Regions from separate parts of the Homo sapiens genome. Here regions 1, 2, 3, 4, 6 and 7 are each linked to region 5. Evidence: promoter capture Hi-C in 16 types of primary human blood cells and fetal thymus (Javierre and others, 2016). All regions are on one chromosome and are shown on one strand. Each heading gives the region's core, a stretch centred on a gene start or on the middle of the fragment in contact. The rest is flanking DNA. Distances are from core to core; before and after follow the strand shown.

Region 1 (3,900 bases), core at 506-3,005, 2.0 Mb before region 5:
CGTAAGGGATTGGGGAAGTAGGAAATGTGGGAGGGCTCAGATGGAAGAGCAGCAACAGTGCGAGCAGTAGCCAAAGGAGAGGGGAGTTTTTTGAGTTATCAGGTGGCAAAAGGAACATTACAAATGAGTCTTCCGTTACCCAAATGAGAAACAAGTTATGGAATTTAAAATTTGCCTGTTAATATTACCTCATCTACAGGCTAGTGAATCCTGGGGCATTTGAGTTGTACATAAGTGATTGTGTCAGTATCTTCCCAACACCCACCCAAACCCTCCTACCCATTTCAAGTCCTCCTTCACCCCAGAATAATTCTGGGGTCATCTTATGCATTTAGCTTTTTCTACATATAGGTTAGAAACAGACTGTACAGCCATTTTCTTGGGCTTTCAGGCCTTGGTAACTTATCTTGGTGCCCACTTCTACCTAACATGGGATAAGCAGTAATCCAGAGCCAGAAGTCAGGAGATCTGAATTATTCAACAAATATTTACTGAGCACCTACTGCGGTTCTAGGTCCTGGAGATACAGAGATGAATATATTTGGTCTGTGATCTCAAGGATAGTTTATTGAGACAGATTAATAGGAAATTATGATGCAGTGTTGTAAGTGCTACGATGAGTGCTGAATCAAATCTCATATCCCAGAGTAGTCTTCATGGCGCTGTCACTAATTGAGCTGGTCACTCTAGTCAGTCACTTCTCAGGGACTTATGTGTAGCATTTCCAGCTATCAAATTCCTAAGTCCACTTACTGTATTCTACTACAGTGTGGCAGTTTTGATTGACAACTAGAAAGGAATCAAGGAGGTGAAGGGATTGGCAAAATGAATAAGGGAGTATGCTTGTTAACAAGGATTGAATGAAATTACACGAATATTGAGAATATTTTAAATGCATTCATTTTAATGAAAACTGTACTTCGAAGCATATGTTAGCAGAGGTTGTAGTGACGGCAAATTATACAAACACTTGATAGAAATTCCAGAAATTCTCCTGCCTTTTGAGAAGCAGTAGGCATATGAACTAAAGGGAGTGAAATCCACCTTAGGAAGACCTGCCAAAAAGCTGATTCTTCAAAAAAGTGTTCTCGAAATCTTAGTGTAACTGGCACCAACACCCATCCCCAATGCCTCGTTTTTTTTCCAGCAGAACTGACAAGGTACAAACGGACCCCGCCCAGCCTGGAAGGCTTCTCTAATGTTGGCAGAGTAGGTTGGACTTGTTTTTGCACAAATCGCCTTTCCCTCTTTCCCTACTCCACTTGCACTGAATATTGCACTTTCTTCCTTACTGAAGCGGGATTCCTGCCTTTTTTTTTTTTTTTTGAGACAGATTTTCGCTCTTGTTGCCCAGGCTGCAGTGCAGTGGTGTGATCTCGGCTCACTGCAACCTCCGCCTCCCGGGTTCAAGCGATTCTCCTACCTCAGCCTCCCGAGTAGCTAGGATTACAGGCGCCCGCCACCATGCCCGGCTAATTCCTGGCATTTTAAATACGATAAATTACTTCAACCTATGACCACCTCAAGCTGAATATAAGTAGCCGCAGACACCGTTTGCATGACCCAGGAACCACAAACACGGAGCGAAGGCCTGCCGGGACCACGCTGAGCTTCACTACTGGCAGCCAACTCACTTCCGGGGGTGCACTCAGCACAGCAGTGGCCCAACCCGCCCTCAACCGGAAGTCTTTTGGGCTCCGGCTTCGCCGTCGCCCCGCCCCCTGGCCTTTGCCCCGGTCGGGCGGGACTTCCTGTGTCGTATTTCCAAGGACTCCAAAGCGAGGCCGGGGACTGAAGGTGTGGGTGTCGAGCCCTCTGGCAGAGGGTTAACCTGGGTCAAATGCACGGATTCTCACCTCGTACAGTTACGCTCTCCCGCGGCACGTCCGCGAGGACTTGAAGTCCTGAGCGCTCAAGTTTGTCCGTAGGTCGAGAGAAGGCCATGGAGGTGCCGCCACCGGCACCGCGGAGCTTTCTCTGTAGAGCATTGTGCCTATTTCCCCGAGTCTTTGCTGCCGAAGCTGTGACTGCCGATTCGGAAGTCCTTGAGGAGCGTCAGAAGCGGCTTCCCTACGTCCCAGAGCCCTATTACCCGGAATCTGGATGGGACCGCCTCCGGGAGCTGTTTGGCAAAGAGTAAAAGTGCCTAGGGTGTGAAGTGGGGTAGGGGGCCGCGAAAGCGGTGTCCTGCAGCGTGGGCAGCCTGGGTCAGCCTTAGGACACCAAGGATGGTGTGCTTCATTTTTAGATTATATTTGAGGTTCTGATATTTGTAACCCAAGCTTGTATCTTTTTTCTTTCTTTTTTTTTTTTTTTTTTCCAGACAGGGTCTTGCTCTGTCGCCCAGGCTGGAGTGCTGTGGTGCTATCTCGGCTCACTGCAACCTCTGCCTCTGGGACTCAAGTGATCCTCCCACCTCAGCCTCCCGATTAATTGGGACTACAGGCGCGCACCACCACGCCCGGCTAATTTTTTTTTAATGTATTTTTTATAGACAGGGTTCTTACCATGTTGCCTAGGCTGGTCTTGAACTCTTGGACTTAGGCGATCCGCCTACCTCGGCCTCCCAAAGTGCTGGGATTACAGGCGTGAGCCACCGCGCCAGCCCAAACTCGTATTTTTCTTTCTTTTTTTTTTTTTTTTCGAGACTGAGTCGCGCTCTATCGCCCAGGCTGGAGTGCAGTGGTGCGATCTTGGCTCACTGCACTCTTCACTTCCCAGGTTCAAGCGGTTCTCCTGCCTCAGCCTCCAGAGTAGCTGGGATTACAGTTGCCCACTACCATGCCCAGCTAATTTTTGTATTTTTAGTAGAGACAGGATTTCACCATTCGCCAGGCTGGTCTGGAACTCCTGACCTCACGTGATCTGCCTGTTTCCGCCTCCCAAAGTGCTGGGATTACAGGCCTGAGCCACCGCGGCTGGACTGCGCCCGGCCTAGAAGGGCAATTATTTTATAGTAACTTAATACTTAAGACAGCTATTTGTTAGAGCAGTCTCAGGATGACATCTTGGAAGCTTCATTAGCAGTTCTAGCTTCTTATGCATTTGAGAGTAACAAATCGAATTAAATAGTAGTTTTTCCTTGTTATTTTAGATTGGCATGTGCCACCCACTGCATAGTGAACTTTCCCAGTGCGTTTTTAAAAAAACATTTATTTGTTTATTTTTAGAGCCAGGATCTTTGCTATGTTGCTATGCTGGATTTGAACTCGGGCTCAAGTCCTACCTCAGCCTCCTAAGTTAGCTGTGACTACAGGCGTGTGCTACTGTGCCCAGCCCAGTGCTTTTATTAGTACAGTCCTATCTGAGTATTTCATGAAATTATTTAGTAAAATAGAATTTAGATTTTTTGTCTTACATCCACGTTTTTATTCTTTCATACATTGCCCTAAAATCTCACGAGTTGGTGTGATTTCTAAAAGTTAACTTAAGATTTAAACGGAAATATTGGTCTCTCTATCCAACTCACAAATTCTTCCTATTTCTAGGGGTGTAATAGTCATCAAAAGCACCTTTTAAAAAACTTTTTATTGGAGTAGGAAATGCATTTCGAAAAATGTGCCTAAGTATACTGATGGATGAATTTTCACAAACTGAACATAGCTGTACCCAGCACTAAGAAAGAAATGGCAACTATTGTAACATCCCAAAAGCTCCCCTTGTGCCTTTTCCGGTCATTGTCTTTTCAGGAGTTGCCACTATCCTAATTCTAACACCATAGCTTCGTTTTGTCTGAGACTACGTTCCTTTTAATATAACTGAACTGTTTAATTCATCTGAGAATTCTACCTATGATGAAAAATGTTGTGGTGGTAGCATTTGGGTTAATTCTGATTATAGAGTCTCTTGGAGAGCAATGTCCATAAACTAATCCCAAACAACATTGTCTTTTTGATGTTG
Region 2 (3,600 bases), core at 595-3,094, 2.2 Mb after region 5:
CAGGGTCTGAGGCAAGAGGCCCCCAGTGACAAGGTTGTCTCAGAGAGCCCAAGACTTCTTCGTCTTGGGAGGACACCCACTGGCCATGGCACACAAATAGCAAGGGATGCTTTGCTGAGACCCAGTGACAGACTTGCCCAGCTCAAATGGGGCCAAACTAAATATACCCCGGGTTTCCCCACAGCTGTGCTTCCTGCTGCTCTGCTGAGACTGAGCCCAGAGAGGGCCTTCTTTCTGGAGTGCAGAAAGGGCTGAGTCTCCTTGCTTTCCTTGCCTAGGATTAAGGATCTAAAGTGCATTTATCTGTTGCTCTGTTACTTGGTATTAGCCAATTCACTCCTGGACTCAGTCATTAAACTGCCACTGTCCCATTTTGACAGAATGGAAAAGGATTGATCGGGCTGTCGTCCAATGGGAAAGACAAGCACAATGACTAAGAATAAGCCCAAGCAGATTGCTGACAAGTAAAAACGATGCCATGTAGACGAAGCTGTTAATAGGACTTAAGAAAGAGCAAGAATGGAGAAAGGGAAGAACAGAGAGAAGAGAAAGAAAAAGAGGCAATGTGAGGAAGAGAGAGGGGGAAAAGGGAAGCAAAGGAAGGGGGAGAGAATGAGAGACAGACAGATATACGCACTCTCCCCTTTATGATTCTACTGACCCATGGAGTTTTTCCGTCCTTGCCATTTTGGCTGTTTTTGACTCACTAGAAGTTGTTTTTGAAGCCAGTTCCTAGTCATGAAACTAAACATGAAATGATCGCTCTGGTGAAGCAAAAGCATCAAACAAATGACCTATCAGGATCCAAGAGCAGCCATGCAGAAAGCCCATGGGCTGAAGCAGGTGGTGGCCTGGTGCTGCTGCTGATCACCTGGACTACTGTGGGCAGCTGACATCACCTCCTGAGCATCACTTTCTTCATCTGTAAAGTGAATTCGGAAGTGTCAAGTGGAGTTGTTGTGAGAATTAAATAAAACAAGCCAGCTTTTCTAGCCAATTAGACTTTCCTATCAAACAATTCCTTCTTAAAAACAAATTGATAGTGGTTTTACTTTAAAAACCTAATATAAATTGATACCCAACATGGCGTTTTGGAAAGCTTTTATTTAGAGGAAGAGTTAGGAGCAGTTTGCTACCTCTTGCACTAATTCTTCTTATAAAATAACCAGTAAAGCCTCTTCTTCAAACCCAGCACCAGGAGTGAGGCCTTTACCTCCTCTAGGACCTGACACTAGGAACCCACTGTTGCCTTTGTCCTGGTGGCTGACCAGGATCTGCCATCTCCTTCTGCACTACAATAATTCTCCTGTCTTCCCTTCACAGCCCTTCCTTTTCTTTCCGTTGTTTTAGTAGGAAAAACAACTAAATTCTGAATTTCTCCTTATAAGTGTGTTTTTCTACCTGCCAACATTTGCTGGTCAACTTGCTACTTTCTGAAGCCCCAAGGTCCTGGATCCAAATTTGCATTCAACACATGTTTGCCTTAATCTTGGATCTACCAAATATTTTCCTTAGGCTTTGAACATGAGCTGTATTCCTTAGTTATTACAATGCAAAATGCCATTCCAACAGCAATTCTGATTCACTCCAAACCCTGTTATACTATGGAAATTCAACAGATCACCAATTGAGGGGGCACCATGGAAGCACAGTGCCCCCATCTTTCTTTATTTGGAGTTCAAAATCCAGCATGGTCCAGGGATCACCACCAGCCTCCTCCTTTCCCTAAATTCCAGGATTGTTAACTCTGGAGGATTCATCAAAGAAGAGTTACATTCTCCCTGCTGACACGCCACACAGCCCCTTCCCATTTCCAGGGGGTTTGTGCAAGCTGTAAATCCCCGGGGCATCTGAATTCCCCTTAAACAAAAGTCTGTCTCCTAACCAAACAGAACCTTCTTGAAGTCAGCAAAATGGCTACTTTGTGGCATTAAAAGGATTTTTCCTCCCATAGCCTTGTTTTCTTTTGGCCTCCCTTCCTCCCAGAACTTAAGAAGCAAATGGGAAGAGAAGTGTGCGAGGAAAAGAATGAAAGGAACAATGACGTATAATATCCCAAAAAAGATCTCTGACCAGTAATGATAGGGTTGCTAGCTGGGAAGCAAGGATCACTGAAACCACAGCCTTTCCACTGTCTTAGAAGCTATAATCACACTCTAAACATAAAGGTATGGCATCCAAACCACCCACTGTTCCCTCCCAGTGCGGGCCTGGAAGCCACACTCTCAGTTACACTGTCATCACATGGGTCACATTTTGCCACTAGGAGCTCAATCCTGCGATTCTGGATAGCATTCTTGATCTGGGTCTCTATGTAATTATGACTGACTATGGGCTGTAGAGGTGGAGAGTTATAAAGCTCTATAATGGCCCTATTAGTAAAATGAGGCTCAAATTCTATGGCATGGGCACAAACGTACATGTATATGCTCAGAAGTCTTTCTGTAACACAAAGAACCCATGTGGTACACAAACCCAATTCTGTACTCAACCTACATAAAATGAAAATATTGGTTATAAATTTTAACATGTAATTAATTGCTTGCCTTCTTACAGTTTAAAGGCTTGTGGACAGATGTTTTGAATAAACTAAGCTTCTTAATATATATAAAAAAGGCAAGTTAAAACTGGTATTTATTCTTCTTCAATATATTTTTCTGTAGCCAATGTAAGTATTTAAGAAGTTGTCAGTGTTTTTAAGCTTGAGGAGGTCAGGATCCATACGTTATGTTAACTGGATAGATTGTATAGTGTCCAAAGTACCTGTGCATAACCAGGGAAGACAAAGGAGGTGGCTCCAGGCTGCCCCGCAGAGTGCCTGGTATTAATCTGAAAACAAACTGTGCCTCTACTCATTGCCAAGCAAACGCTGACTTCACTGATGCCTGTTGTCTTCATTAGAAGCTCTGCATCAAAACAAATACTCTAATAAATATGCTTGTTATATTTTATTATCTATTCTAGAGATGATCTTTTCATCTTTTTAACCTACCCACATTTTATGTCCTTAGATGCCTTAAACAGGCCCACTAGGCCTTCAGTTAAATAAACAAACCGTTAGGCTGAGAAACTATGTCAAATGGGCACAACTGGCAGGCTATTAATAAATCTAGACACTTAAGAATTTTAGCCTTGATGGAGATACTCCAGGGGGAAAAAATTTTAAATATTCTAGCCCAAGGAAGCCCCCAGCAATGACTCAGTCCAAACGCTGTGAAATATATACTGTATTTCAGATATTCCTGGGCTCTGCAGGAATTTGAATTAATCATCCTGGATCAGGACTCATCCTGGGTCAGGAGGAAAGACATTCATTGCTTGGTTAACTATTGGGGAATTTTTTTTCCCTAGCCTGTGTTGGGGAAAGAAGGAATATTTGTTGAGGGACTCTTTTTTTTTTTTTTTTTTTTTTTTTTTTTTTTTTGAGACAGGGTCTTGCTCTGTCATCCAGGCTGGAGTCCAGTGGTGTGATTACGGCTCACTGCAACTGCAGTCTCGACCTCGCAGGCTCAAGCAATCCTCCTGCCTCAGCCTCCTGAGTAGCTGGGACTAGAGGCATGGGCCACCACTCCCGGCTAATTTTTGTGTTTTTTGTGGAGA
Region 3 (3,654 bases), core at 914-3,413, 2.0 Mb after region 5:
TTTAAAAAGATATAAAGACATATCAGTAGCTGGACATGGTGGTACACATCTGTAGTCCCAGCTGCTTGAGAGGCTGAGGCAGAAGGATCACTTGAGCCCAGGAGTCCAAGGCTAAAGTGTGCTATGATCACTTCTGTGAATAGCCACTGCACTCCAGCCTGGGCAACACAGTGAGACCCCATCTCTCGAAAAAAAATTAAAGAAAATAAAGAAAACACATCAGGTAGGCAAATACAGCAAATATAACAGAGTATGTAGCAATTATAACATAAATGTAACAGAGTAAGATAAACATACCTGTCATATCAAAAACTATGAACGAGCTTAACTCACCTATTATATGAAAGATTTTCAAACTGGCTCACAAAACAAAACCCAACTCTATGCTAATATTAAAGTGATTGATTAAGGGACACAAAATAAAAGAATGCACAAGGGCATATCAGGCAAATGGAAACAAAAGAAAGTAGAGGGTCATGATTTTGATTCCGATAAAGTAAGATTTAAGACAAAAAAGCATTAAATCTGACAGACTTTTTTAAATGCTAAAGTCACAACTGACAATGAAGAAATAACAGTTATAAATATTTATGCATCAAATAACATAGCAACAACTTTTGCTAAAGCAATTGCTATAGAAGATGCAAGGAAAATTAGAAACACATTAATACTTAGAGATGTTAACAACATTATCATTCTAAGTGCAAGACAGGTCAAGCAGACAAAAAAATAAGTAAGGATACAGAAGAACTTAAAAAAATAGACATTGAATTTTATACCCTGATAGTAAAAATGAAGTAGAAAGTGTATATGCCTTCAAAATTGGTTGGGGAGAAAACTGAGCTAGGAATAATTTTATCTTATTGAGTAAAGAATATGAAGAATGTCATACTGGAAGTCTTAGCCAGTGCAGTAAGACAAGAAAAAGAAATAAAAGGTAAATAAACTGAAAAGCAAGAAATAAAACTGTCTTTGTTCAAAGATGATATGATTATCTATATAGAAGATCTCAAAGAATCTACAAACACACACACACACAAAATCCTAGAACTAATAAGCAAGTATAGCAAGGTCACAGGATATAAGATCAATATATGAAGGTCAATTGCCTTTCTCTGTACCAGCAATGAACCACCAAAATTTTAAAGTTAAAAAAAAATCATTTATACTAACACCAAATAAAAACACATATAACTCTAACAAAACAGAGAATTGCTATGTGAAAAACTGCAAAACAATGATAAAAGAAATCAAAGATCTAAATAAGTGGAGAAATATTATATGTCTGTGGATTGAAAGAGTCAATATTGTTAAGGTGTCAATTATTCCCGACTTGCTCTATAGATTCAACACAATCCCACTCAAAATCCCAGGAAGCTATTTTGTAGATGTTGACAAAAAGATTCCAAAGTTCATATGGAAAGGCAAAAGACCCATACAATACTGAAAAAAGAAGGAATAAAGTTAGAGGACTTCTACTACCAGATTTTAAGACTTATAATCAAGGTAATCCTGGTATTGGCAAAATAATAAACATATACATCAATAGAACAGAGGGGCCAGAAATAGATCCAGCAATAACTGATCTTTGACAATGGCATAAAGACAACGCAATGGAGAAAGAATAGACTTTTCAACAAATCGTGCCGAACAACTGGATGACTATATGTAAAAAAATAAATAAATAAAACTAGACACAGACCTGACACCTTTCACAAAAATTAACTCAAAATGGATCACAGACTGAGGCGGGAGGATCACCTGAGGCCAGGAATTTGAGACTGGTGTGGGCAACACAGCAAGACCCCATCTCTAAAAAATAAATTGAGGCCGGGTGAAGTGGCTCATGCCTGTAATTCCAGCACTTTGGGAGGCCAAGGCAGGCAGATCTATTGACCCCAGGAGTTCAAGACCATCCCTGGCAACACGGAGAAGTCCCATCTCTACAAAAAGCACAAAAACTAGCCAAGTGTGGTGGTGCACGCCTGTAGTCCCAGCTGCTTGGGAAGCTGAGGTGGGAGGATCACCTGAGCCCTGCAGATCAAGGCTGCAGCGAGCCATGACCATGACACTGCACTCCAGCCTGGGTGACAGAGCAAGACTCCGTCTCAAAAAAAAAAAAAAAATGATATACAATAGATGTGCATATTTTCAGGGTACATGTGATATTTTGACATATTCATGTAATATGTAAAGATCAAATCAGGGTAATCGAGATATCTATAGTAACAAGTTTTCAGACACAATACCAAAGCACAATCCATGAAAGGGAAAACTGGTTAAGTTGTACATTATTAAATTTAAAAATCTGTGCTTCCTCAAAGACACTATTAAAAGAATCAAAAGACAAGCCCCAGAGCAAGAGAAAATATTTGCTGAACACCTGTCTGATAAAGAATTTGTATCCAAAATATAGAAAGAATTCTTAAATCTCAACAAAAAAACAATCCAACTGAAAAATGAGCAAAGACCTGAATAGACACCTTGCCCCAAAAGATGACAAATGAGCATATGAAAAGATGTGCCATAGCATTTGTCATTAGAGAAATAAAAATTAAAACAACAACTACCACTACACGCCTATTAGAATGTCTGAAGTCCAACAAACTGGCAAACTGGACTTGACTAAAATTAAAAATTTCTGCTCCGCAAAAGATACTGTAAAGGGAATAAAAAGACAAGCCTCAGACCAGGAGAAAATATTTGCAAAAGATAATATTTGACAAAGGACTGTTATCCTAAACTTAAAAAGACCCTAAAACAGGGGTCCCCAGTCCCTGGGCTGCGCAGCAGGAGAGCAGCAGGTGAGTGAGTATCACTGCCTGAGCTCCACCTCCTGTCAGATCAGCAGCAGTGTTAGATTCTCATAGGAGCATGAACCCTAGTGTCAACTGTGCATTCAAGGGACCTAGGTTGAGTGCTCCTTATGAGAATCTAATGCCTGATGATCTGAAGTGAAACAATTTCATCCCAAAACCACCCCCTCCCCTTATCCCCAGTCCATGGAAAAAATGTCTTTCACGAAACCAGTCCCTGGTGCCAAAGAGGTTGTGGACCGCTGCCTTAAAAGATACTTTACCAGGCTGAGGTGGGAGGGTCACTTGAGGCCAAGACCAGCTTGAGAAAGATAGCAAGATCCCATCTGTACAAAAAATTAAAAAAATTAGCTGGGCATGGTGGCTCACACCTGTAGTCCCAGCTACTTGGGAGGCTGGGGCAGGAGGATCACTTGAGCCCAGGAGTTCAAGGCTACAGTGAGCTATGATTGCTCCACTGCACTCCAGCCTGGATGACAGAGTGAGACTGTCTCAAAAAAATAAACAACAAAAAACACCTCATCAAAGAGGACCTACAGATGCAAATAAGCATATTAAAAGATGCTCTACGTCATGTATAATCAATACACCACTACACACCTATTAGAAGGGTCAAAATCCAGAGCACTGACAATACCAAACGCAGCAGAGGATGTGGAATAAGAAACTCTCATTCATTACTCTTGGGAAAGCAAAACGGTACAGACACTTTAGAAGACTGTTTGGCAGATTCTTACAAAACTAAACATACCCTTAGCATATAATCTAGCAATCATGCTCTTTGGTATTTATCCAAAGGATTTGAAAACTTGCATCTGCACAAAAACCTGCACACAAA
Region 4 (3,649 bases), core at 503-3,002, 2.1 Mb after region 5:
AGGAGTGGCAGAGGTATGACATCCAGGAAAAGTGCACGGGTAGCTTCACCATTGTTGGTAATGTTCTTAAGTTAGGTGTGGATTCATGAGTGTTCATTTTTATGCTCATAACTTACATATAGTTTATATGTTAGATACATCTTATACGTTAAATATGCATAAGAAATTTATAATAAATTAAAAGCAGAGAGGAATCCTGATAGTAGGAAATAGGATGGTTTGCACCAGGATTGTCATCTAGGAAGCTATCGTATAGTTAATCTGGACATAATAAGAATGTTAGAGACTGGAGTCACTGCCATCTCTTTCAGGGAAGAGATTGACAGACAGGGGCCATATTTTCTACCATATTATTCTCATTCCCCTGACTACATACATAGATGCCAAGACTATAAAGCAAAATCATGAAATGTTTATCACAAAAGTCAGGATAGTGGATACTTCTGAACTGGAGGTGGGCACCCCTCTTTCTTATCTTTTTGTCTTCATAGAAAAGGTACAAAAAGACATATGTACTAACCAAATTTCGAGGTTCCTAAATAATGGAGACTAACTCTCGGTTAGTTAGAGAGAAAATGAATTTATTGAAAGGACATTACATAGCTCACAAAATTGATGGAAAAGCTGAAGAATGAGGCTTGGAACTTGGAAAGGAGCCATGGGAAATTAGGCAGCCCGAAATAGAGACCAAATCAATACACAGGAAGCATCTGGTTAGTATCCAACTGCGTCTGTCATTGGCACAACCACCATCAGACGTTGGACAGTACCCTTATTGCTTCCTCTTCCACCTCTGGAAAGATTCTAAGTGCCATTTGCTTCTTTCTGTTACTCCAGAATCAAGGTCTTAGGTAGGAGTGTCTGATTGGAAGGTCCTGTGCCCAAATTCTAGAGACAAGGGATCTGGAAAAGGGGCTATTTGTCCATACTTAAGCTTCTTTATTGGATTTTTTTCCAAATAGGAAGTGTTAGATACTAGGAGGCCAAAAATGAAAAACTCCTATCACAAGGAATATTAGAAATAAACATATCTGGCTTCTGCCTATTCACAGCGAGGAGAAAAGATTAATAGGATCAGTTAAGATCTGTGAAATTCACAGGGCCATGCTTTTACTTGGAGACAAGGGATTCTGCACAGTCACTGAACTGAAAGGCAGCCAGGCTTTCTCTTCCTTCTGCTTTGCAGTGCACCACTCTTTCTCTTTTCTAGTTTTTCTGCCTGTGATTGGCAGTGGGAACTGGGGTGGAATTCTGATCAGTCCTGCCAGGCCAGGAAGCTATCTTCAATTCAGGAAGGTGAGATGTGACCCTGCTGCTGTCTCCAAACTGGCCAGCATCAGAGAACTCTTCAAGGGTATGTTTTTGGGTGCCTGACCAACCACGAAGACAACTGACATTTGGGCCGGGCATGGTGTAATCCTAGCACTTTGGGAGGCCAAGGCAGGAGGATCACATGAGCTCAGAAGTTTGAGGCCAGCCTGGGCAACATAGTAAGACTTTGCCTCTACAAAACATAGAAATATTAGCTGGATGTAGTGGTGCATGTCTATAGTCCCAGCTACTTGAGAGGCTGAGGCAGGAGGATGGCTTGAGCTGGGGAGATTGAAGTTGCAGTGGATGGTGATAGCACCACAGCACTCCAACCTGGGCAGGCAACAGAGCAAGATCCCATCTCAAAAAAAAAAAAAGACAGCTGACATTTGGATTCTTGTTTGGCTGGTGATCTAGTTTTTCTGTCATGCAAAACCCTGGAGGAAAAGAGGGATGGGTGATAGGAATCAGACTCTAAATTCCACCCTAAACTTCCAGTTAGCGGTGCCTTAGACTGGCTGGTGATACAACCTAATATGAAATGGCTATATCAGATTCATCTCTTTGAGAATCTGAACTTGGAAGAACTGAGCCCTCAGCAGATGTGGGGAGAGAAGAGACACATGTGAGAGGCTGTGTGATAGTTGCCTTAGTATTTGATGATGCTGTGATCAGCTGCAGGCCATAGTCTCCCTACAAATAGTTAATGAACACACTAATGAAGTTCAATCACGTTTATGAATAAACACTGATTAAAACAATGAGATAGATGTCTTCTTCTTTTTCTTTTCTTACTCAAAATGTCAGTAACCCTGTTGGCAGGCGTATAAGAACAGTTGTGCTCTTACACTTTGCTATTGAAAGTATAAATTGATAGACTTTCTGGAAGACAGCTTGGAAATACATAAATATATACTGAAACTTTAAAATTATGCGTGTCCTTTGACCCAACAATTACACTTCTTGGAACTTTTTTATTTTTATCTGTTTTAGAGATAGGATATTGCTCTATTGCCCAAGTTGGCTTCAAACTCCTGGGCTCAAGTGATTCTCTCACCTCAGCCTTCCGATAACTGGGACTACAGGCACACGCCACTGCACCCAGCCATTGGAATTTATCCTAAAGAAAGAATTTAGGATGTGAAAAAAGATTTAGTTATAAAAGTTCATTCATCACAATGCTATTTACAATAAGAATATTTCCAAACTGTTGGAAACAATCTAAATGTCCAGCAGTATAGACTGACTAAATTATGATGGAAGCTTAAAATAGTATATTCAGCCATTAAAAATGGTTTTGCAGAAACTTACTTTTAAATGAGGCTTCTGAGTCAAAAACAAAAACAATTAATCATTTGTAGCAAAAGCAGCAGCCCAAGCAACATCCTATGTTGGTTTCCAAGGGTCATCATGAGGGCGAGATGGTACCTGCACATGCAGCGGGGTGCATTACAGGACAGGAGCCCTGTAAAAATTAGGAAACTCTGATCTTCTATATAACTGCCAGAGACCTGCCCATCATCCTCTCCAGAGAGAGAGAAACCTTAGTTTACTCTGGAATGTAAGCAAGTCTTGTCCAGGAAGGGAGGAAGAAGAGTTCTTTATCTTTACTATCCTGGACCATCTCCAGGGAGGTAAACATGTCTACGCTTTACTATCCTGAGATGTCTCCTTATATAAGTATTCTTGAATTGTTTGCAATTGCCTTCGATCAGAGGACCTGAGCCATGCAGAAAAGTGAGATGTTCAGGGTAAATCTTCTTCTAACATTGACTGTATGTGAAGGGCATTAGATGCAACTGTCAATTTTTTTTCTCAGTTTGAAAAAGTTTTTATTTTTTATTTCCCATTTCTTAGAGACAGGGTCTTTCTCTGTTGCCCAGGTTAGAGTACAGTGGCATGATCACAGCTCACTGCAGCCTCGAATGCCTGGGCTCAAGCCTCAGCCTCTCAAAGTGCTGGGATTATAGGCATGAGCCACCATGCCTGGTTTTGAAAAAGTTTTAAGAGAAAGTTTGGGAAAATAATATTGCATAAATGTATTTGACATGGACGTTGTTTAGAATATGCTAAGTAAAAAAGTGGATTATACATGGCATGTAGTAAGATCCCATTTTTTAACAATTAGGTATAGGTGTTTGTCTATGGAGAAAAAAATCTGGAGGGGGTATACCAATATATTAATAATGTTTATTTTTGGGTGAGAGACAGCATCATTTGTTTTCAAATGTTCTTTCTGTTTATATGTGTTTTGCTTTTTCTCCAATGAATGTAGTAGTTTTTGTGATTAAAATTTCTTTTTCTTTTCTTTTCTTTTTCTTTTTTTTTTGACAGGATC
Region 5 (3,495 bases), core at 624-3,123:
GAGGCTAAGGTAGGCAGATCACTTGTCAGAAGCTCAAGACCAGTCTGGCCAACACAGTGAAATCCCATCTCTACTAAAAATACAAAAAAGTAGCTGGGCCTGGTGGCGCACACCTGTAATTCCAGCTACTTGGGAGGCTGAGGCAGGAGAATCACTTGAACCTGGGAGGTGGAAGTTGCAGTAAGCCCACATAGCGCCACTGCACTCCAGCCTGGAGACAAACTCTATCTCAAGAAAAAAAAAAGGTAAATTAACAAACATGTAATGATAATGCTCATACCCTGAAAAGCAACCAGGATCAAACAGGGGAAGGGCAGATTTACATCTCCCATTGCACACTCACTGGGATATATGTTTGTTGAGAATAATGGCAGGCAGAATTGCCCACTCTTTAAATTGTCATTTTTCTTGCTTCCCTCCACCCCAGTCAAACAATAAAACTTTTGTAATTTAAATATAAATAAAACTCCACTTTTCACACATATTGTACGATTTTCTCTAGTTATAAAGCACTGCCTCATTCACCTTTTAAACGAACCACAACTACCTCAATAGAGTATTCTTTACATTCATATCTTAAAAATAGTAATTAGTTTACATAAATTTGGATACCTGAATAAACTAAATTCTTTCCTTCCAGGACTTGTCCAAGCAAAAGGCACTCTGCCTGCCATTCAAACATCTTTTTTACACCAAAACTGTGGTATTTTTCCAGAACTGCTTTAGGAAGTCCCCAGTTTGCCAATAGTAGCTTGTCTCTTTCGTAGTCAGGAACTGTAGGCTTGCATTCTCCTTTTAGGAAAAAGAAAAAATTAAAATTTAATTTACTTCTAATATATGAGTTTTACAGTTAGCCCTTCACCGTGTGTTGGAATTCCTATGTGTTGAAATGAAGCTCTTTAAAGCACATCCTGACTTCAAGAATCTTATGAGAAATTGACCATGTATAGAAAAGTAATAAATTGTTATTTACTGCATATAATAAAAATTCCTTAAAAGCCTCAAACGAACAAAAAAGCGTGCAATACACAGTAGATAAAGAGTGTTGGAATTACGGGTGTAGTTGGGGGAGGAGGGCAATATGCAAGCATTACAAAGCTAAGTTAGGTGAGTTTCTATTTATAGTAAGTTTTAGTTCCATGACGACTGCACAACTAACGATTTTAAAAAACTGGGTCGACATCCACGGGACACCCAACCAATCTCATTACGAATCCCTTCCAGCCTTCCCCTGGACGCCGAACAGCCTGTGCCGTACTCCAGGCCCAACAATCCTGTCTTAAGGGTCTGTAAGGAGTACTGGGTACTACCAGGAACGAGCCGCCCAACAGATGATGGGATGAAGCTAACTAGGAAGTTGTTTCTCTAAAGGTCGAAAGATCCAGAAGCCACGTGAACATTAATACCAGGCGATCACTGAAAACACGCGTATGTCTGAACAGAAAGTGACCTGCCACACCAGGCCCCAGTCACAGAGAAGGGGAGTAGAAGCCCAATGGGGTATGCAACGAAGCAAGTCCCGTGGGGTGAGGACACCTCCCGACCCATGGCCCGGCGGAGCTGCCCCCGTTGCCCGCGGCCTCCCGGGTTCCTGGAGCACCTGCAGCTGCGGCCTTCAGGCAGCGACCAAGGCCGGGCGGCGGGCTCAGCACGGACCCGGAGAGGAACTGGGGGCTGGCACTGCTGTCACCGCCGCTTCCCGAGAACGAATCTGAGCCTGATTCTGAACGCCGCCGTTTCCCACTCCGACGCAGAAGATTCATGGCAAACTCTTCTCGGCCGATCAGGGCAAGCCACAGTCCCAGCGTCCTCCCTCTCGGGAGAACCCTGGCCTGGCAACAGCTGCGGACATCTTCCCGCCAGTCTTCAAACTCAAACCTCCCGGCCCGCCCCGGAACCATAGAGTTCTCCGTGGCTTAAGTAACCCGAAAGCCATAGACTCGTGGGGAAGGAGCGGCTCTCGCTGGCGTCTAAGACTTCCGGCCTCCAACCTCCTGGTTGGTTAATATGAGAGATAGATTAAAGAGGAAGAATACAGAATCTACAGTTATAACCATACTGACCTAAAAGCCTTCCTTCTCCTTTTGTCCATTTCTGGTTTGAATAGGAAGGCCATGCTAACTTCATAAAATGGGCTGCCCATAATAGGTAGATCAGGGAAGTAGCTCTTCTTAACGTATTGGTATTCTGTAAAAAATTATTTCAGATTGAGAAGCATTATGCAAGATAGCCTAGGGTTTCTAATAGAGCATAATTTCCTCCTTTCTCCTAGTATATGATGGTAGGGCAGGGCTATTTCTGAACACAATTTCCATTTTAGCCAGCATGCATTGTGAGGAATATGTAATGAGGAATTGGGGATTGCTGGCTGACAGACCCCTGAGACACTATATGAACGCCGCGAGGAAGGGGCTCTGAATATACCCCAGGGATCGTTATGAGCCAAGAGCTTAGTAATGCATCTGTGTTGTCCCTTTTGTAAAGGTAGAAGCGAACGAGTTCTGAACGTAAAACGGTGACCATTCATTACCTAGTTGCATAATTCATTTCACCAAGCAAAACTAGTAGGCCCTAAGCCTGACCTGAAGAGGCTGTGCAGTTCTAGAGCACTAAAAATCTCAAAAGGTCCAGTCCAATTAAAAAAAAAAAAAACACTCGAATACAATCTGGAAAATAGCATTCGAACCATCAATTCCTTCCGTGAAAACATTTTTTTGATTTAAATGACAATATTCTAAAGTTCCACGAGATGGCGACATTACTCCGTGAATGAAACATTTTTCTCTTGGCCTTTTACGCAATCAACAACTATTTACTGAGTATCTACTGTAAGCTAGCCACTGGGTAAATGGCAGTGAAATGGCATAAAATGGTTCCTGCTCTCAAAGAGAAAGAGTCTAGAGAATAAGGCAGACATTAAACAAGTCAGTTAATGAAGTGTGCCATATGCTTGGGCAGAAATGAAGAGTACTATTAAAGAAATAAAAGAGATCTCGCCGGCCGTGGTGGCTCACGCCTGTAATCCCAGCACTTTGGGAGGCCGAGATGAGTGCATCACCTGAGGTCAGGAGCTCTAGACCAGCCTGGCCAACATGGTGAAACCCCGTCTCTACAAAAATACAAAAAATTAGCCGGGTATGATGGCGGGTGCCTGTAATCCCAGCTACTCTGGAGGCTGAGGCGGGAGAATTGCTTGAACCTGGGAGGCGGTGGTTGTAGTGAGCCGAGATCGCACCACTGCACTCCAACCTGTGCGACAAAGAAAGACTCCGTCTCAAAAAAAGAAAAAAAAAAAAAAGAGAGAGAGACCCCTAGATTGCAGCCAAGAAAGAACTTTCTCAGATGCAGTGTAACTTAAGGGTTAACAGTGCAACTCTGGAGTCAGTCAGTCTAGGTTTGAAACTTAGTAGCTGTGAGATCTTGGGCAACTTGCTTAACCCATTTTTTGTTTGTTTGTTTGTTTTGAGACGGAGTGTCCCACTCTGTCGCCCAGGC
Region 6 (3,567 bases), core at 638-3,137, 2.0 Mb after region 5:
AAGGGGTTTCAAGTAGAAGAAAGATCTGGAAGAGAATGGGAAGAAAAGGGAATTCCTGTGGTCCATCAGGAAGTCCCAGATGCACAATGGTAGGTAAATGTCATATACAGCAATGTACATATGTTGAAGATAGCCTGTATCAATCTCAACAGTTAACCTCTTTGCAGAGCAATCTTTAACCCATTTGAAATCTCACTGTCAATCACAGAGGCATATCCAATCATGAGTATTTGAAAGTGTCTTTGGCCGGGCGCAGTGGCTCACACTTGTAATCCCAGCAATTTGGGAGGCCGAGGCTGGCGGATCATGAGGTCAGGAGATCGAGACCATCCTGGCTAACATGGTGAAACCCCGTCTCTACTAAAAATACAAAAAATTAGCCGGGTGTGGTGGCGGGCGCCTGTAGTCCCAGCTACTCGGGAAGCTGAGGCAGGAGAATGGCGTGAACCCGGGAGGCGGAGCTTGCAGTGAGCCGAGATCGCGCCACTGCACTCCAGCCTGGGCGATGGAGTGAGACTCTGTCTCAAAAAAAAAAAAAAAAAAGAAAGTGTCTTTGCTATAATTACAGTCTTATGTTAACCAAAGATATTTAGAAACCCAAATTCTCTCAAACATAATTTTAAACTGCCATAACTGCATTAGTCCACTAATTTTTAATCTAACTATACTTGACAAATATGCAAAGATAACATCTGCCTCATCAATGAATATCATGGACTCCAAAAATGAATAAAGTAGAAAACACCCACAACTCATTACAGAGGAACTCGTTTTTTAAAAACTGACATATAATTCACATGCCACAAAATTCACAATTTTAAACTGTACAATCTAGTGGTTTTTAATATGTTCACAGAGTTGTGCACCCACCACCACTATTTCAAGAACAATATCATCACCTTAAAAGGAAATCCTGTACCATTAGCAGTCACACCCCACTCTCTCTCCCCACAGCCCCTAACAATTCCTCTACTTTCTGTCACTATGGATTTGCCTATTCTGGATATTTCTTATAAATGAAATCATACTATTTGTGACTTTTTGTATCTGCCTCCTTTCACATGCATTTTTTCAAGATTTATCCAGGCATATATCAGTAATTCATTTGCCTTTATTAATTTTATGAATGTTTATATCCATAGACCACATTTTATCCATGAGTAGCATTTTATTTATAGATACTTTTTTTTTTGGAAATGGGGTCTTGCTCTGTCACCCAGGCTGGAGTGCAGTGGCACGATCATGGCTCACTGTAGCCTTGAACTCCTGGGCACAAGTGATCCTCCCACCTCAGTCTCCTGATTAGCTGGGACTACAGGCATGTGCTACCATGCCTGGCCAATTTTTTAATTTTTTGTAGAGATGGGGTCTCGCTATGTTTCCCAGGATGGTCTTGAATTTCTGGCCTCAAGCAATCCCCCCATGTCAGCCTCCTAAAGTGCTGGGATTACAGGTGTGAGCCATGGTACTCAGCCAGGCTTCCTTTTGTACCTTGCTACTACATGCTCCTTTGTACTTGCTTGGTAAATGTTTTTATGTCTTTTAAAAAGCAAAGTGTTATTATTTTCTTAAGAAGATGTGAAATTGGAGAACAAGTAATTTCGATTTCCTTTTTAAGTAAACTCCCACAGAACCTAATAAAGAATAACATTTAGCATAAAGAGATATAAATGAGTAGCTGCCTTCCCTGGATTCATTTTCTCCTCCTGTAAACAGGATATATGTCAACACTAATAATTCCCATCAGGATAACTTATGTGTAATTAAACAATACCACACACATCTAATTATTACACAGTGTAGATGGGGTAGGCAATGAAAAACTCCTCAACCACAGAAATTGTGGTTTTAGCAAGCCTGCTCTATCGCCCAGTCCAAGGGATTACTTCCATCACTGACCTTTGCAACGTTAATTGCCTGCATGTTCCTGGGAGTCTTCACTTCCTTATGCACAGACATTTTCCCAAAATCAAATCCAGGATTTGTCACTTAATTGGTTCTTAGTGGGGATAACAGAGATAAAACCAAAAATCCAAGATATTTTCCTAAATCCCTATTAAAAATTCTATAAGGATAAACAGGCTAATCCTTCAAAGTCTAAGACTTGGTTCCTGAGTGGATTTTAAAGTATGACACTGTTTAATGTCCCTACCTTCCATAAGATATACTTAAATTTTAAAAATTATACTTCTAACATTACCAAGTTTTTTTTTTTTTGAGACAAGGTCTCACTCTGTCATCCAGGCTGGATTGCAGTGATGCAATCATAGTTCGCTGCAGCCTCAAACTCCTGGGTTCAAGCTCAAGCCTCCCATTTCAGCCTCCCAAGTAGCTGGGACTACAGGTACCCACCACCCAGCCCAGCTAAAAAAAAAAAAATTTTTTTTTTGTAGAGATGAGGTCTTGCTATGTTGCTCAAGCTGGTCTCGAACTCTTGCCCTCAAGTGATCCTCCTGCCTTGGCCTCCCAAAGCTCTGGGATTGCTGGGACTATAAGCATGAGCCACTGTGCTCAGCTCTAATATTATGATGTCTTAAAGAGATAGAAACCCCTTTAAATTATTGAAGTATTCCAAATGGGGACAACCCCCTACTATATCAAGTACTGGAAGTCTGATGGTCTTGACTCCAAATTTGCTTCTCTGTAGCTTGTGGGAACTGTACTGGCCAAGGTTCTGAAAGAGAAAGTACTACTTATTTACTAGTGTCCGCTTCCAAAAAAAGTTCAAGCCTCTAAGTTTAAAAAATGGTTCACATTAGGATTTGTTAAAATTTCCTCACACTCAAATTTAGGGTAGTAAGGGACTTTAGAAATCTACTTTAACCTAATTATTTACAAATGAAAAGGAGGTGGATACGAGAGAAAAGACTTGCCCAAATCTATAGAGTCAGTTGGGAAAACTATTATACTTAAAATAAAAAGGTACTCAGGCTTCCAGCTGGAAGCTCATTTCATCATACCACCTACTTAAAATGCCTAAGTTTGGACACTATTGAAATTCCTCTGTGTTGCAGTGAGCCGAGATCCCACCACTGCACTCCTGCCTGGGCAACAGAGTAAGGCCCTGTGTCAAAAAAAAAAAAGAAAAAAGAAAGAAAGAAAAAAAGAAATTCCTCTGCCTTCTAAGAGAAAAAAACAAAAGCAAAATGGATAACTTTCTGATCTAGAACGTGAGAGTGAATCCAGCCTGGGAAACACAGCCAAACCTCACCTCTACCAAAAATATAAAAATGAGCCAGGCACGGTAGTGCACGCCTGTGGTCCCAGCTACTTGGGAGGATGAGGTGGGAGGATGGCTGGGGCCTGGGAAGTCAAGGCTGCAGTGAGCAGTGATCACACCACTGCACTTCAGCCTGGGTGACAGAGTGACCCTCTCTCAAAAAAATAAATAAATAAAGTGAGAGTGGGCTGGGTGCAGTGGTTCACGCCTGTAATCTCAGTGCTTTGGGAGGCTGAGATGGGAAGATTGCTTGAGCCAAGGAGTTTGAGACCAGCCTGGGCAACACAGGGAGACCCTGTCTCTATGAAGTTTTAAAAATTATCCATGTATGGTGGTGCAAGCCTGTG
Region 7 (3,591 bases), core at 32-2,531, 2.4 Mb after region 5:
CAAAGAAACCTGTCTCCATTGCTGCTTCTAGTCAGGAGAGAAACAGTCCCCCAGGAGTTGGTAGCCACAGACTAGTTCTAAGTTTTCAATTTATGCCAACACCAGCATGGCTGGGAAATCCCAAGACAAGAAACTAAAGTGGTCTTAGGTTGGTGGGACTTCATGACCTTTTACTTTATTTATGTTCTTTTATTTGGAGGAAAAAGAGGATAAAATAATGATTAATTTTAGACTTTGCAAAGTGTTAGAAAAGTTATAACAGTAATGTAACCACTAAATCTGTAGAGAGGAAAAAAGGAATTTTTTAAAAACACAAACAAGCAAACAAACAAAACCCTTCATCAGTCAAAAAGAAGGCAAGAAAGGAGGGGTAAAAACAGGAAAAGTAGACAAATAACATGGTAGAAAATAATGCATACATATCAGTAATCACAATAAAAATAAATGGGCTTAAATGTGCCAGTTAAAATACAGGTATAGGTACACCTGAAAAAATGAAGACACAGAAAGACTCAAGGTGAAAAGAGTATAAATAAGCAAAGAATAACCAATAAAAGTTAAGGTAGACATACTCATGCCAGACAAAAGATACTTTAAGGCAAAATGCACTATTAGGAAAAAAGAGTGACGAAAGCTTCAATTGTTTTTGATAAAATGATAAAAAGCTTCAATTGTTAAGACAATAACAACAATTCTCAATGAGTATGCCACAGACATCACCATGGAGGAGTCTCACCATGCTAGGTGGAAAAGCAATATATTGTTTCTGGTGACATATATATGTTATAATATTATAATAAAGAGTAAGGAATGATAAATACAAATTCAGAATGGTGGTTACCCCTGGTGGAGGAGGGAGAGGATGGAGAGGGATGTTATTAGGGAAATACAACAAGGGTCTCAGTACTATTAGTAATGCTCTATGTTTTAAGCTGGATGGTTGCTGTCTAGATGCTTGTTTCATTATTTTTATACTTCTACTTACATCATGTATTTAATTTTGTCAGTATGAAATATTTCATCATTTAAAAAGTTACTCTTATAAGTTGTTTCTGATGACTTTTCAACCCATTTTATCTATCAAAGAGCAGTGCCTTATTTGCTCATGTTGTCTGCACATATATATATTCTTTTACTGTGTTAAAAATACATACAATTTACCATTTTAAATGTACAGTTCAGTGTCATTAAGTACATTCACATTGTTGTGCCACAATCACCACCAGCCATCTCCAGAACTTTTTCATCTTCACTAGCTGAAACTCTGTACCCATTAAGTACTAACTCCCTATTCTCCTTCCCCACAGCTCCTGGCAACCACCATTCTTCTATCTTCATGAATTTGACTATCATATAAAATCATATGGCATATAATATTTGTCCCTTTGTGTGTGGTTTATTTCGCTTAGCACAATGTCTTCAGGTTCATTCATGTGGTAGCATGTGTCAGAATTTCCTTTTTTTTGGATCCATAGTCAGATGTGTTACCCATTGCACCACTGGCCCCAAGCTGAGAATTTCCTTGTTCTTAAGGCTGAATACTATTTTGCTAGATGTACCACAATTTTATCCATTCATAGGTCAATGGACAGTCGGATCATTTCCACATTTTAGCTATTGTGAATAATGCTGCTATGAACATAGGTATACAAATATGTGTTCAAGTCCTTGCTTTAAATTGTGTTGGGTATATATACCCAGAAGTGGAATGGATGGATCATATGGTAATTGTATTTTAATTTTTTGAGGAACTGCCACACTGTTTTCCACAGCGGCTGCACCATTTTCTGTGTCCATGTATTTTGACAGGATCTTTTGGTTGTGCAATTGTTTAATTTCTCTCCTGGAGTCTCAGATAATCTCGTGTAAACGAAAAGATGCCCCAATCCTAATTAAGGAAGCTTCCATGACAACAGTAACAATGTTAACCCTTAGTCAGTATAGAGCAAACTTAAGTAAAGCCTTTACTTCATCCCATTGCTGTTTCTAACAATTGGTCTGCAAGCTCTTTTCATTTTGGGGCAAGGAATCTCTTGTAAGTTTTCCATACCCATTGTCTTTCTCAGGGGTTGGTCCTTCTTTAACCTCTTGCAGTTTTTTTTTCTCTTCTCATCATTCTATTTTTCCCTTAAAAGTTATCAATTATATCTATTAATTTATTGTAAGTGCCAGGTGCACTCATAACAGGACCAGTACTGTGCTAAGTACAGGACCATACATTTTTCTCAAGTAATCCTCAAAATATCCCTATGGGGTAGAATATATTAGCATTATTTCACAGATAATGAAACTAGAAAAGATAACAGAACTTTTGCAATGACATATAATAAGTGACAGAGGCAGGATTTGAATACACATAGTCTGACATGGGAGGTGGCCTGCTAGACATGACAATTCTTTCCTTCTTGAGACTTTCTCTTCCTTTGATAGCATACGCCATTCTTGTGTGTCTATTTTCCTCAGCATTGCTCCTTTGCCTCCTTCCATAATTCCTCTTCCTCCTTCCTTGCTCTGAGGAAGAGTTAGCAATCTTCCCCCAACTCAGGTCTTCAGCATTCTTTCTGTTGCTCTTCTTGGAGAGCTCGCAGCCTCTTCACGGCTTTATCTACGACAAAACTGTGTGGATTGCACTTGTTTTCCCATCTTTGACCTCTCGCCTTGTGCTTCTATTTCATACTTCCCATTGCCTCCAGGACACTTCACTAGAATCCATTGTCCATCTCCCAACTAAATCTCTCTCCCAGGTTCTTCTCTGAACATGATACCACTAATCTCTCAGTCCTTTGGCCTCAAAGTCTGAGAGTCATCCATTTTCTTCAGTCTGCTGAATCTCACTAAATCCCACTATTTCCTTTGAAATGTGTCTTCAATTAATCCCTTTCTATTTCTACTCCTGTGTCTCTGGCTCAGCCCCTTATCACCTATTGTGCAGCCTCCTGACTAGTCTCCCTGTCTCAGGTCATTCTCTGGCCTGTCCTGTTCAGTGTGTCCAGATCTATCTTCCAAGTTGCTTTTTATAGTCAGAGAGCACTGCTCACAAAATGACAATCATATCCTGACTTTCAAGGTTTTCTATGATTTGTACCTATAATTCTAAACTAAAAATTTTCCGCTACTCTTTACCAACACAAATTTCCTATACAGTCTGCTCTGGCCACTTTCCAAAAAAAAAAATTATATATCCAAAGCTTAACACTGTCTCGCCCACTGTTAACAGTAATCTATCCTTCTTTTCTCTCTTCCCCTCAGTATTTTGCTAATTCTAGCCGGCTTACTTGAAGTGCCCTTCTTCTTTCATCTGCTTAAACCCTATACTTCCCCAGGGTTTTTCATACTGTGCCATAGGCCTTCCTAGAAAACTTGGATATCATCAAATATTGTTTGTAGTATGCATATTACCACTCAATCCTCTTCTGCCTTTCATTGCTCTCTAAAGCTGAGCTCCCCACTAGAGGCCATGGCAGAATGGGCTACAGGTGTGCCATGAAAGATTGATGGTTGTAAACTTTTTATAGTAATACAAAATGTACAACCACTTACAAACTTACAACAGTTGAAATTATATTTGGATACTGTTTGGCACAGTCAGTA

Evidence for each region. Contacts are between HindIII fragments. The CHiCAGO score rates a contact against its expected background, and 5 or more counts as called.
Region 1: a contact is called between the fragment with the promoter of TIMMDC1 here and the fragment with the promoter of POLQ in region 5, in 1 of 17 cell types (fetal thymus). The highest score is 7.7, in fetal thymus.
Region 2: a contact is called between a fragment that was not itself captured here and the fragment with the promoter of POLQ in region 5, in 3 of 17 cell types (fetal thymus, total CD4 T cells and naive B cells). The highest score is 9.6, in fetal thymus.
Region 3: a fragment that was not itself captured here is called in contact with the fragment with the promoter of POLQ in region 5 in 2 of 17 cell types (total B cells and activated CD4 T cells); the score reaches 7.3 in total B cells.
Region 4: a contact is called between a fragment that was not itself captured here and the fragment with the promoter of POLQ in region 5, in 4 of 17 cell types (activated CD4 T cells, naive CD8 T cells, monocytes and 1 more). The highest score is 6.9, in activated CD4 T cells.
Region 6: a fragment that was not itself captured here is called in contact with the fragment with the promoter of POLQ in region 5 in 7 of 17 cell types (activated CD4 T cells, naive B cells, non-activated CD4 T cells and 4 more); the score reaches 6.8 in activated CD4 T cells.
Region 7: a fragment that was not itself captured here is called in contact with the fragment with the promoter of POLQ in region 5 in 2 of 17 cell types (naive CD8 T cells and activated CD4 T cells); the score reaches 6.0 in naive CD8 T cells.

Annotation. Positions count from the first base shown.
Region 1 is chr3:119,496,792-119,500,691 of GRCh38, forward strand. TIMMDC1 (translocase of inner mitochondrial membrane domain containing 1) reads left to right here and starts at 1,756. Exons shown (of 7, transcript NM_016589.4): 1 at 1,756-2,136. The coding sequence starts at 1,943. RefSeq lists an enhancer at 1,496-1,545. The HindIII fragment of the contact is 2,873 bases long and covers 1-2,280 here.
Region 2 is chr3:123,714,450-123,718,049 of GRCh38, forward strand. All of the region lies in intron 13 of MYLK (myosin light chain kinase), which reads right to left. It overlaps LOC105369194 (a long non-coding RNA gene), which reads left to right. Exons shown (of 3, transcript XR_924417.4): 3 at 1-1,951. Among named protein-coding and RNA genes, the nearest start is that of MYLK-AS2, 27 kb to the left of the region's middle. The HindIII fragment of the contact is 1,495 bases long and covers 1,098-2,592 here.
Region 3 is chr3:123,554,327-123,557,980 of GRCh38, forward strand. The region is part of intron 3 of HACD2 (3-hydroxyacyl-CoA dehydratase 2); the gene reads right to left. Among named protein-coding and RNA genes, the nearest start is that of HACD2, 29 kb to the right of the region's middle. The HindIII fragment of the contact is 4,418 bases long and covers 1-3,654 here.
Region 4 is chr3:123,594,843-123,598,491 of GRCh38, forward strand. The region is part of intron 2 of MYLK-AS1 (MYLK antisense RNA 1); the gene reads left to right. Among named protein-coding and RNA genes, the nearest start is that of MYLK-AS1, 11 kb to the left of the region's middle. The HindIII fragment of the contact is 1,640 bases long and covers 933-2,572 here.
Region 5 is chr3:121,544,115-121,547,609 of GRCh38, forward strand. POLQ (DNA polymerase theta) reads right to left here and starts at 1,874. Exons shown (of 30, transcript NM_199420.4): 1 at 1,601-1,874; 2 at 613-792. The coding sequence starts at 1,763. RefSeq lists enhancers at 1,607-1,836, 1,728-2,022. The HindIII fragment of the contact is 11,524 bases long and covers 1-3,495 here.
Region 6 is chr3:123,577,096-123,580,662 of GRCh38, forward strand. All of the region lies in intron 2 of HACD2 (3-hydroxyacyl-CoA dehydratase 2), which reads right to left. Among named protein-coding and RNA genes, the nearest start is that of HACD2, 6.2 kb to the right of the region's middle. The HindIII fragment of the contact is 5,964 bases long and covers 1-3,567 here.
Region 7 is chr3:123,981,586-123,985,176 of GRCh38, forward strand. The region is part of intron 1 of ROPN1 (rhophilin associated tail protein 1); the gene reads right to left. Among named protein-coding and RNA genes, the nearest start is that of ROPN1, 8.7 kb to the right of the region's middle. The HindIII fragment of the contact is 1,236 bases long and covers 664-1,899 here.